Linked DNA regions of Homo sapiens: region 1 is linked to region 2. Evidence: promoter capture Hi-C in human tissues and cell types (Jung and others, 2019). All regions are on one chromosome and are shown on one strand. The core of a region is centred on a gene start or on the middle of the fragment in contact, and the rest is flanking DNA. Distances in the headings are between cores, read along the strand shown.

Evidence for each region. Contacts are between HindIII fragments. The study calls those that stand out against the background at their distance.
Region 1: a contact is called between a fragment that was not itself captured here and the fragment with the promoter of OR1J1 in region 2, in 1 of the 25 tissues and cell types used here (hippocampus).

What each region holds. Positions count from the first base shown.
Region 1 is chr9:123,092,024-123,098,775 of GRCh38, reverse strand. It overlaps RABGAP1 (RAB GTPase activating protein 1), which reads right to left. Exons shown (of 26, transcript NM_012197.4): 22 at 931-1,035; 23 at 1-61. Among named protein-coding and RNA genes, the nearest start is that of MIR600, 16 kb to the left of the region's middle. The HindIII fragment of the contact is 4,152 bases long and covers 3,393-6,752 here.
Region 2 is chr9:122,475,844-122,482,348 of GRCh38, reverse strand. It overlaps OR1J1 (olfactory receptor family 1 subfamily J member 1), which reads left to right and starts at 4,423. Exons shown (of 1, transcript NM_001004451.1): 1 at 4,423-5,391. The coding sequence starts at 4,423. The coding sequence ends at 5,391. It also overlaps a transcript of OR1J2 not described here. The HindIII fragment of the contact is 7,011 bases long and covers 972-6,505 here.

The DNA of each region.
Region 1 (6,752 bases), core at 4,219-6,718, 620 kb before region 2:
AACTGTTTTTTTTAATCTCAGATTCTGCCTTGTCGAGTTCCCGACGGCACATTTCTTTTAACTGCACACATAAAAAAACAAAAGGGACTATGTTAACAGAAAAATAAAGGAAGTTCTGCCACCAACCGCTTAGTGCTAGGCTTCCCAAAAACTGCTGAACCAAACCCTGGAAGTCCTCTAATTCAGCTACTTTCTTCCTTCAATCTTGGCAGCACTAATCCCCTGTTCCTGATGCAGGAGAGGGAGAGAACAGTTAAAACTTCCAAAAACGTCAGACCCCATTTCAGATTGAGGCTTCTGCTGAAGGTCTTCCCTGCCAGTACAAGCCAACCTGTGGACCTTCACTGACAGACCAGACACAAACCAAAGAGCTCATAAGAGGACTGCGGGTTTTCAGCATCTCATGGTTTCTGTAGAAAGGGCTTTGCAGTCTCTCACCCCAGCCAGTCCTGCCTCCTGGACGACCGTGGTGTGACAGGGGAGGGGACTGCTCCCAGGCGCACAGCACCCAGAGCTCTTCCCATGCCTGCAGGTCTGTGTCTCCAATGACTATGGAGCACTGGCTCAGAACAAGACTTCCCAAGCTTGCTCTATGAGGGAGACAGCAGAGGACAAGTAGGGAAACAGCCAGGCATTATATGATGTGTGCTTTCCTTCTGCAGGAATTCTACCCCCTCTTCTTTGTTATGCTCAGATGCTGATACACAGAAATTCTCCTGCCCCAACAAAGGATGGGCTTCAACCCACTGTCTCCTCCTAGACTTTAATTAGGAACCATTGGACTTTACACAGTAGGGGGAAAAAAAAAGTCTTTGGAAAGAAACTGAAGCCAGATGTCTCTAGGTTTTCTAGTGCCAACAGGAAGCCACCAGCTGAACTCCCAGTTCTCAAGCATTTGCAAGACAGAGGAATGTGGGAGAGTTCCCTTACCTGAGCAGACTCTTCTTCCAGCCGTCTTTTCTCTTCTTCTGCATCAATCAACTTCTGTTTGGTCATCAGCAGCTCCTTATTCAGAGCATCTGCCTTTTCCTCAGCCTGAAACATTTAAGATATGCTGTCACAAAACAAGAATTGGGAACTGCAAAGGATTTCCATTACTTAGCATAATCCCATTTTAAGATGATGGGGAAACTCTGATTCAGAGAGGGGAAATTATATCCCCAGGGTCACAATGAGAATACACTCATGCATAAGTGCCTGTCCCAGTCTCTTGCTCAGAGGTAGTGCAGGGCAGTAGTTAGGAGCTTAGCCTTTGGCATCAGACAGCCTGGACTCATCGCCCATTGTTCACTGACCATGTGCCACTTGGACAAGTCATTGAGAACCTCTCTAAGCTTCCGGCTCTTCATCTGAGGGATAAGGCAAGAAAAGCATTCAGCACAGTGCCTGGAATACAGTAAACACCAATAAAAGGTAGCCATCATTATTATTAATAAACTGGTTTTCTTCCTCCAAGCTGTGTTTCCTCTGCTTCATCCAACCCGTCTGGCATTTTTCTCTTGTTATTACCTGATAAAGGAGGCTGCCCCTTTCCTGGCACTTTTTCTTATCTTTAATGGCCACTCTCCACTCCAGTCTTTTTCTAAAGCATGCAAAAGGTCTAGTGGGCGTATCTGTGAGTTCTAGTGAAAATGATATACTTTTGCCTGACATACGAGTTCCTGGTGCTGGGCACTCCAAAGATAACTGAAGAAGGACTGACTATACCATATTAGAGAAGACTCAAGGACTAAATACAGAGGGTCTCTGCTGGGCTCCTGATATGGATAGGATTTCCCTGAAATTCTGACATCACCTAAAGTAGTGTAACTGGGCCACTGAGTTTTCCACTATACTCTATTTCCTTTCCTGTATCTTCTTTGGAAGAAACAGGTTCCAGAGAGCTGGGTCCTTAAATGGGGAACTGGGCCAGGTGCGGTGGCTCACGCCTGTAATCCCAGCACTTTGGGAGGCCAAGGTGGGCAGATCACAAGGTGAGGAATTTGAGAACAGCCTGGCCAACATAGTGAAACCCTGTTTCTACTAAAAATATACAAAAAATTAGCCGGGCGTGGTGGCAGGCGCCTGTAATCCCAGCTACCTGGGAGGCTAGGGCAGCAAAATAGCTTGAACCCAGGAGGCTGAGGTTGCAGTGAGCCAAGATCGCACCATTGCACTCCAGCCTGGGCAACAGTGCGAGACTCAGTCTCAAAAGAGAGAGAAAAAAAGGTGGAACTGAGAATGGCATGATACGCAGATTCAAAAGGCCATTAATTACTGGCAAACTGCAAATGCACGCAATTAAATTGCGTGACTCTTTTATCATTAGGAAATGTCCCTCTTTGTCCTTGGTAATACCCTTTGTCCTCGGTAATACCCTTTGTCCTGAAATCTACTTTATCTGACATTTCTATAGCCAGTCCAGTTTTCATGGTATTGTGTGGTATGTACATCTTTTTCCATCTGTTTACTTTGGTAAAAGAGTGACTCTTTTATCATTATGAAATGTCCCTCTTTGTCCTTGGTAATACCCTTTGAAGGTGTAACAATCCAAAATGTATGCAGAAATTCAAATTACATGAAACAAATCCCTACACAACTAAAAGGAGAAAAAGAAAAATGCACAGTTAGAGTCACAGAACCTTCTACTGTGCTCTCTCAGGAAGCGACAGAACAAGCAGAGAAAATCAAGTTGTTCTACATAAGACTTGAGCACTATCAACCAATTTGGCCTAATTGACACAGTACACTCCACTCACAACAGAACATACATACTTTCCAAGTGTATGTGGTACATTCACCCAAATAGATTATATGATAAGCCATAAAATAAGTAATGGTATATTCTAAAAGGATTAAAATCAGGCAGGATATAATCTCTGATCACAACAGAAATAAATGAAAAATAACAGAAAAGTTTCTGGGAAAAACAATAGTTGGAAATTAAATTACATACTACTAATAAACTTGTATAAGTGAAAGAATAAATCACAAGAACTGAATGAAAATAAAAGCACAACACATCAGAGTATGTGGAATGCAGCTGAAAATAGTGCTTACATGGAGATTTCTGATTTTTTTTTTTTTTCTTCAAAGACACAGGGTCACATTCTGTTGCCCAGGCTAAAATGCAGTGGTACGATCATAGCTCACCATAACCTTGAACTCCTGCGCTCAAACAATACTCCCATCTCAGCCTCCCAAGCAGCTGGGACTACAGGCATGTGTCACTATGCTCAGCTATTTTTCAAAAATTTTTTGTAGAGACAAATTCTTGCTATATTGCCCAGGCTGGTCTTGAACTCTTGGGCTCAAGCAATCTTCCTGCTTTGGCCTCCAAAGTGCTGGGATTACAGGCATGAGCCATTGTGCCTGGCTGAGATTAATAACTTTAAATGCTTATTTTAGAAAAGAAGAAAGGTCCAGAGTTATTCAAACTTCCTCTTTAAGAAGCCAGAAAAAGAGCAAATGAAACCCAAAGAAAGTAAAAGCAGAAATCAATGAAACAAGACAACAGAGAAAACTCAATAAAAGCAAAAGCTGGCTTTTTTTTTTTTTTTTTTTTTTTTTGGGACAAGGTTTCACTCTGTCACCCAGGCTGGAGTGCAGTGGCATGATCTCGGTTCACTGCAGCCCCTGCCTCCCGGGTTCAAGTGATCCTCTCACCTAAGCCTCCTATGTAGCTGGGAATATAGGCATGTGACACCACAGCCAGCTAATTTTTGCCATGTTGCCCAGGCTAAAGCTGGCTTTTGAAAAGATCAACACAACTGATAAACTTCTAGCTAAGTTGGTTATGGAAAAGTGGGAAAAAGAAATGACGTACATCAGGAATGAAAATGAAACATCTCTACATATCTTATAAATATTAAAAGAATACAAACAACCTTATATCAACATACTTAAGATGAAATGGATATATTACTTGAAAGACACAAATTATAACAACAGACACACGAAAAATTAGAAAATTTGCATAGCTCCATATCTAGAAAAGAAAAAGAATTCACAATTAATTTCCTGCAAAGAAAATTTCAGGTCTGCGTGACTTCACTAGGGAACTAAAGACTTAATCAAAGAACAATCATATACAAAGTCCTCAAGAAAACAAGAGGGAACACTTCTCACTTCATTTTACGAGGCCAGCATTCCCTAATGACAAAACCAGACAAAAACATTAAATAAAACTCCAGACAAATATTCCTTATGAACATATAAATATTTAATAAGAATTAAAATCTTTAATAAAAAATAGAAACCCCAACTGGAGTTTATCCTAGGAATGCAAGGTTGGTTTACATTGAAAAGTGAATTTATTTCACTATATTAACAAAATTAAGGAGAAATACCAAATGATTATCTCAACAGACACAGGAAAAGCATTTGACAAAATTCAACACCCATTCATGACAAAAACTCTCAGCAAACAGGAACAGAGGAGAATTTATTTCCTCAACCTACTCTACGAAAAACCTACAGCTAATGTCCAGAACCAGGCAATGATGTCCACTCTAACCATTCAGCATCATTCTGAAGATGCTAGTCAGTGCAGTGAGACAAGAAAAAGAGAGGCAGATAAATATGAAAGGAAGAAAAACTGTATTCAGAGATGATATGATTGTATATGTGGAAAATCTGAAAAAATATATTTAAAAAGCTGCCAGACTAACAAATGAGTTTTTACAAGGTCACAGGATACAAGGTCACAACACAAAGACCAACTGCATCTCTAGAGACTAGCAATACACAACTGGAAGATGAAATTTAAAAAACAATACCACTTTACAAAAATAGATTAAAACATGCACGTCTTGTAAATTGAACACTAAAAAACATTGCTACTGAGAGAAACTGAAAAAGATCTTAATAAAGGAAAATTTTAACATGTTCTGGATTGAATGCTTCAACTGTTGTTCAGATGTCAGTTCTCCCCAAATTGATCTACAGATTCCATGAACCTCACTCAAAAGCCAGAGGCTTTTATTTCTAGATATTCATAAGCTGATTCTAACACTGATACAGAAATGCAAAGAACAACAAAGTCAGAGAACTCACATGAACTGATTTTAAGATTTATTATAAAGCTACAGTAAGCAAGACAGTGTGGTATTGGCTTAAGGATAGACACAGAAACAGACGGAGCAGACAGAATCAAGAAGTGAACCCGCCAATTTAGGGTCAATTGATTTTTAATAAAGGGGCCAAGCTAACTCAATGGGGCAAGTTCAGCAATCTGCAAAATGTCACAGAACTAATAAGGAGCTGAGGCAGAGTTTACATCCTGCTGGACAGCAGTTGGGCTCACCAGCAAGTTTCCTTCACTCTCATGTCTGTCTCAACACAGAGGAGTGACCCTGCTAGAGGGGACTCGGACATGGTCCTATCAGCTCTGCAGGGACCTTCCATAGCTTCCCCTCATCCTTTTAACACCAGTGTCAGGTCTAGTCATTACTCCCATTTCATACAGAAAGCTTGATTGGGGTCACCGAGGAATTAAGTGGCTGGCATGGAATTTCTCCACAGCTGTTGTGTGAAGAACAGCAAAAGTGACAGGTGATGAATAACAAAAGTGATGTATAATCAACCGAAAATACAAGAGGGCCCTGGAAATTTTAAAGCCTCACACCAGAGCTTTTCTCTGAGATGCAGGAAGGAAAGAGCTCAAAGGAATGACGTTCTTTCAAAAACCTAAGTCCCTAAAGTAAAAAAATAATGAAAGGGCCCCACACTCCTCCCTTCAGTGAGGAAGAATCTAGCTGATTTTCAGTGATGATTCAGAAGAAACTACAGAGAGAAGTCTAACTTGGGAAGGGAAAGTGAGTGTGGGAAAGGTGTGTCTGCAGCATTTTAGATGACTGCAGGATGGGCCCTGGTGTGATGCTCCTGAGCCCTGCCGCCTGCTTAGGAGGGTGAGCTCTGGTGTCAGCCCTTCAATTTGAGGGCTTGGCCACTAGCTGGGTGATCTGTGTGGGATATTTAACCTCTTTTTGCTTCAGTTTCCTCATCAGTAAAATGGGGATCATAATTATATCCCTTCTACAACACGGCCTACTCTGAGGATTTGATAATATATAGAAAGCACTTAGAACAGTGCCTAGCACTTGGTAAGTGCTCAAGAAATGTTAGCTCTTATGTCACAATCCCTGGTCCTCATGTTTTTGATACGGTTATGACATTGATTCATAGCTCCTTGTCCCATATTTACTGTGGAAACAGGCTGGCACTGTAAAAAAAAAGCCTGGGCATTCCAGTTCCATGGGCCTGGCTCTGCTTCTTCCTGGGTACCTTCAACTGAATCTCAAGTTTTATAGCTGTTAAAAAAAACAAATCCTCATCCATAAATGGAACTTACATTACTGTTCTCTCAAGGCTGAGGTAAGGGTAAGAGAGATCAAAGTTTAGTAAAATGCTTATCATAGTGCCTAGCACCACAAATCATCAGTAAATGGGAGCTCATATTATAATTCTTATTATTTTGCACTCCTAATATCAGGAATGAAACCTGGTTCTCTCACTACTGTGTCAGGATAAGATGACTTGAAAAAGGGTTTATACTGTTTAGGGGCAGGTTTTAAGAACATAAGTAGTCTACGACTCACTAGTGGGTGTCACTGTTAATACTGGGCCTGTTAGACTGGAAAATACAACAGCTCAAACTAAAAATCCACCTGGAATTTTAGCCTAAGCTGCCTCTTAATTTCATTGTAGGACACAAAGGCTCCTATTCAAGACCCATATTTTTTTTCTTTTCCTTTTTTTCCTCCTTTCTGCAT
Region 2 (6,505 bases), core at 3,174-5,673:
ATAACCATTCTATTTGGGGTGAGGTCACAGCTCATGGAGGTTTTAATTTGCATTTCCTTAATAATTAGTTATATAAGTGGTTTTCCATATACCTATTGGCCATTTGTATGTCTTCTTTTGAGAAATACGTATTCAGGTATTTTGCACATTTTAAAATTTATTGTTTTTGTTTGTTTGTTTTTGCTATTGGGTTGTTTCAGTTCCTTATATATTCTGGATATTAACCCCTTGTCAGACACACAGTTCGAAAATATTTTCTTTCATTCTGTAGGTTGTCTTTTCACTCAGTTGGTTGTTTCTTTTCCTGTGCAGAAGCTTTTTAGTTTGATATAATCTTATTTGTCTATTTTTGCTTTTGTTACCTGTGCTTTTGAGCTCTTGTCAAAAAAATCCTTGTCTAAATTAATGTCATGAAGCATTTCCCCTATGTTTTCTTCTAATAGTTTTACTGTTTTGGATCTTATATTTAAGTCCTTAATCCTCTTACAGTTTATTTTTATATATGATAAAGGATAGGGGTCTAGCTTCATTGTTCTGCATGTGCATATCCAGTTTTTCCATCACCATTTATTGAAGAGACTATCCTTCCCAATTTAACCATCTTATAGCAATGTATCAGAGTTCCTTTTCTTCGTATACTTGCCAATTCATGGTGTCTTCATGTATATTTTTAAAATTTCATCAGTGCTATCTTACCATTGTTTTAACTTTTATTTACTTTATCACTTTGAAAGTGGACCCCTCACATGCTTAATATGTTTATTGGCCATTCGGACTTCATTTTCTGTGAGTTTCTAGTTTGTATTTTTTGCCATATTTTAATTGAGCTTGTCTTTTCCTTATTGAGCTTTTGTCTTTTCTTTATTGATTTATAGGAGTTCTCTATGTGTCCGGAATACTAGTGTTTTGTTGATTTGTGGCAGTATATATTCTCCCATCTGTGGCTTTGTGGTGTTGGTGGTTGCTGTCGTAATGAAACTTCATTTTAATGTTATCAAACTTAAAGGAAGATTCATTTATCCTGTGTGCTTTGGGGATCTTGATTAAGAAATGCGCTTTACCATGAAAAACGAATGAGATCATGTCCTTTGCAGGGACATGGATGAAGCCAAAGTCCATTATGCTTAGCAAACTAACACAGGAAAAGAAAACCAAATACTGCATGTTCTCACTTGTAAGTGGGAGCTAAATGATGAGAACACATGGACACATAGAGGGGAATAACTCACACTAGGGCCTTTTAGAGGGTGGATGGGGCCGGGCGCAGTGGCTCACGCCTGTAATCCCAGCATTTTGGGAGGCCGAGGCGGGCAGATCACAAGGTCAAGAGATCAAGACCATCCTGGCCAACATGGTGAAACCCCGTCTCTATTAAAAAGTACAAAAATTAGCTGGGCGTAGTGGTGCACACCTGTAATCCCAGCTACTCGGGAGGCTGAGGCAGGAGAATCACTTGAACCCGGGAGGCAGAGGTTGCAGTGAGCCGGGATTGTGCCACTGCACTCCAGCCTGGTGACAGAGCAAGACTCCATCTCAACAAAAAATAAAAAATAAAATAAAATAAAAAATAGAGGGTGGATGGTGGGAGGAGGGAGAGATCAGGAAAAATAACGAATGGGTACTAAGCTTAATACCTGGGTGATGATGTATACATATGTAACAAACCTGCATGTTGTGCACATGTACCCTAGAACTTAAAGTATAATAATAAAAAAAAGAAGCAAATACATTTTCTTTCTAATAAAATTTGTTTTTAGATCCTTCAAAAGGATTCAACAGCCAAAAAAAAAAAAGAAATACCTGGGTGATGAAATAATCTGTACAACAAACCCCCATGACACAAGTTTACCTACGTAACAAACCTGCACTTATACCCTTGAACATAAAATACAAGTTAGAAAGAAATATGTTTTAACCTAAGGCCATAAACATAATCTATAAAGTTTTCTAATGATGTGAGGTAGGGATATAGTATTATTTTTCCTTTATTGATAGCCAACTTCCTCAGCACCACTTAATGAACAGTTCTTCCTTTTTACTACTTTATCACTGATTTATAATGCACTTTTGTCAATCTCATGGTCCTCATTATAAACATGTCTATTTCTAAGCTCTATATTTTTCTTCATTATTTTATTGGTTTATCCTTGCAAATATTTATTTGTTTTAATCACTTGCAAATATTTATTATTTGTAACAAGCTGTGATATGTTATAGTGAATCCCTGCCCTCTCTTTTTATTAAAAAAAAGAGTACTTTGATAAATATTGATGTGAGTTGAAAAATAAATCGCTTATAAGCTATTTCAGAGATGCTGAAAGAACAGAATTCCTGTTAAAATTACTTTTAGCTTTTAGATTGTATTTCTTTGAATGTGAGGCCATGTGGCAACTAAATAACATGGGGCCCCAGGATTGTTAGAGCAAAGCTGGTTCTTGAACTAAGCCCAGTAAAAGTTTTTTAATAAAGCTGTTATGATAAATTTAAATAGCTCTAACATTTTATTTGATCAACAAATTTATATAGAGTATGCATTAGTTGGTTATGATAGATTCTAGGTCTAATCTTTCAAGAAAAAGAGAAAGGAACATGGAAACATGAAAAAGAATAGACCAAAATAAGACATCCAGCTCATATCTTAACCTGAAGTATTATTTCCAAATATGTTGAGAAATTGTCTCGTCCTTCTGGTACTGGTATTTAGAATAGAGTAACAGCATCTGACAGCCTCGCTAATATCTGAATTTATTATGATGTGAAGTTTCCAAGTCTTTATGAATTTTTCGTAATTACACTATTAAATGTTTTAAAAGTGGTAGTGATTAAAGACTGAATTTAAGTTGTGTTTAATGCCTCATCAGTCAGTACCTTTGATATATTTCAAGATCAAGCAGGAATTTCTAATACAGCATCTGATGTCATATAGAAATGAGATACAAAACAATAAAACACAAAGGCCGAGAGACTGGAGGAGGAAATCCAAACTCATCAGCATTTTACTTACTCTGGCTTGACACAGTCAGTAAAATGCTTTGAAAGCCATCCTGGGGAAAAGACAAATTCTGAGTGGAACAATGAGATTTCAGTAGCATGGAGAAATTGATGAGATGGCTGAAATCCACTGAATGTGAAATCTCACTGAGCCAATGCTCCTTAGACATACTGTGAGAGGAATTCACCGCTGCGTCCCCAAGAGACATTGTCACATGTGTGGTTGAGCCTGGAGGAATATATATATGTTTTCGCGCTACACATTGATATTCAAACATAGAATTAAATATCTTACACTTATCTTAAACTTTAAAAAGATCAGAGCAATTAGGCTGGGTGCAGTGGCTCACACCTGTAACCCCAGCACTCTGGGAGGCTGAGGCGGGTGGATCATGAGGTCAGGAGTTCGAGACCAGCCTGACCAACATGGTGAAACTCCGTCTCTACTAAAAATAAAAAATTAGCTGGAAGAATCGCTTGAACCCAGGAGGCGGAGGTTACAGTGTGCCGAGATCTCACCACTGCACTCCAGCCTTGGCAACAGAGCGAGACTCTGTCTCAAACAAACAAACAAACAAAAAAAGATCAGAGCAATTATGTATGGATCTGAAACCATAAGAAAGATTTTCTATCTTGTTGCTTACTTCGTATTATGATTTATTTACCTGGACTTTCAACAGTACCACCCTCCCCACCTTCTAGAATAGTACATATATATCATGATAAAATATGTGGGTATGTCCTTTGAAAAATCACTCAAAATAACTTGTTTTGTTGTCTTTTGGAGTAATTGTTTACATGGAAGAGTTTTTTAATAAATAAAGTGTTATGTCTTAAAAAAAGATTAGGGGTCTATAAACAATGAATAAATTAGAAATAATCATGCACTGTGTAGACAAGCAGGGTATACAGAATTAAATAGGTCATTGCACACAAAATAAGGCAATGAGATTTCCAATGTCAAATAATTGCTTTGTTTCCACAGAAGAAACTATGGAGTCAAGATACTTCGGTCCAAATCCCAGCTTCTCCTCTTCCTATTGCTGTGACTATAAGACTGTCTGCCTTAGCTTTCACATCTAAAGAGTAGAAATAATAACAGTACCACCCAGCTCATATATTGAAGGCTATTGAATCACTTACAATACATCAGCTATTGGAACAGTGTATTAAAAAACATTTAGCAAACAACTTTTAGTACTATCATTTACAGAGACCAGATTCAGAAAGAAAGTAGCTATATCGACTAAACCTTCATTTCTTTTTCAGCACATTTGCAGCAAAATATGTGGCAAATGTAAGAAAATATGAAGACATTCTCTAAGTCAAAAGAACATCTCTATTATACTATGCCACAGTTATCATTTCTTATTCCAAGACATACCATTTTTTTCCTTCAAATTTCCCTAGTGCCCTCCAGCTGATATAAACATGAGCCCTGAGAACCAGAGCAGCGTGTCCGAGTTCCTCCTCCTGGGCCTCCCCATCCGGCCAGAGCAGCAGGCCGTGTTCTTCGCCCTGTTCCTGGGCATGTACCTGACCACGGTGCTGGGGAACCTGCTCATCATGCTGCTCATCCAGCTAGACTCTCACCTTCACACCCCCATGTACTTCTTCCTTAGCCACTTGGCCCTCACTGACATCTCCTTTTCATCTGTCACTGTCCCTAAGATGCTGATGAACATGCAGACTCAGCACCTAGCCGTCTTTTACAAGGGATGCATTTCACAGACATATTTTTTCATATTTTTTGCTGACTTAGACAGTTTCCTTATCACTTCAATGGCATATGACAGGTATGTGGCCATCTGTCATCCTCTACATTATGCCACCATCATGACTCAGAGCCAGTGTGTCATGCTGGTGGCTGGGTCCTGGGTCATCGCTTGTGCGTGTGCTCTTTTGCATACCCTCCTCCTGGCCCAGCTTTCCTTCTGTGCTGACCACATCATCCCTCACTACTTCTGTGACCTTGGTGCCCTGCTCAAGTTGTCCTGCTCAGACACCTCCCTCAATCAGTTAGCAATCTTTACAGCAGCATTGACAGCCATTATGCTTCCATTCCTGTGCATCCTGGTTTCTTATGGTCACATTGGGGTCACCATCCTCCAGATTCCCTCTACCAAGGGCATATGCAAAGCCTTGTCCACTTGTGGATCCCACCTCTCAGTGGTGACTATCTATTATCGGACAATTATTGGTCTCTATTTTCTTCCCCCATCCAGCAACACCAATGACAAGAACATAATTGCTTCAGTGATATACACAGCAGTCACTCCCATGTTGAACCCATTCATTTACAGTCTGAGAAATAAAGACATTAAGGGAGCCCTAAGAAAACTCTTGAGTAGGTCAGGCGCAGTGGCTCATGCCTGTAATCTCAACACTTTGGGAGGCTGAGGCAGACGGATCACCTGAGATCAGGAGTTCGAGACCAGCCTGGCCAACATGGCGAAACCCAGTCTCTACTAAAAATACAAAAAAATTAGCCGGGCATGGTGGTGCATGCCTATAGTCCCAGCTACTCGGGAGACTGAGGCAGAAGAATCACTTGAACCCAGGAGGCGGAGGTTGCAGTGAGCCAAGATCGTGCCACTGCACTCCAGCCTGGGTGACAGAGCAAGACTCTGTCAAAAAAAAGAAAAAAGAAAAAAAAATTATTGAGTAAAAAAAAACCATTATTCTAACTGATATTTACCTTTCTTTTAAAACATCCCATGTAATATTTTTCCTCAATAATACAGAAATACAAATTATTGAAAATATAGCTCACTTGTCTTTCTTCCACAGCTGTCACTCTGAAATGCTTTCCTGATATTATTATTGCATCTGTTTGAGGGAATAGTAAAATAGGATATGTTGTATAGGACTTTGTTTGCTCTTTTCTTGGGTAATGGAATTGGAAAATATTCTGAGCATGTTATGTCACTTTGGCTGGTATGAAAAGGAAGCCATCAGGGCTGACCTTTCCCAGATTTTAAATTTGTTATAAAATGTGTCTGGCCCTTCACACCTCTATTTCTTAGGAATTTTCCACTTTTGTGAAGATATGGCTCCTCTTTCGCCCAGGCACCAGATATCCAGGAAGCTGAAGCCCTTTCAGAAATTTTAAGAAAAACATATGACATTTCTCACTCCTTACATAATAATTAACACACTGCTGTCTTGTCCTTCCAGAATATAGCCCACACTTCCTTTCTCCCCAAACACATACAGATGTTCAGTGACAAAATAAATGTCACCTCAGTTCTCTCAGGGACTGATCTAAGAACTTAATATACCTTAAAATCATCTAACTTAATTCTGACAAAAACTCCAAAAGGTAAGTTTAAAAAACTCAGGCTCTAAAAGGGGAAGAATACCCCAAGATCATATAGTTCGTGAAAGGAAGACTTGAATCTTGGCATCTGATTCCAGAGTGACTCAGTGTAGCAAAGACTATAATAGTTTACATGGAACACTGTGTGGGTTTGAAGAGGAATAATTAGCTCAGTCTGATGGAAGAGGATATAAA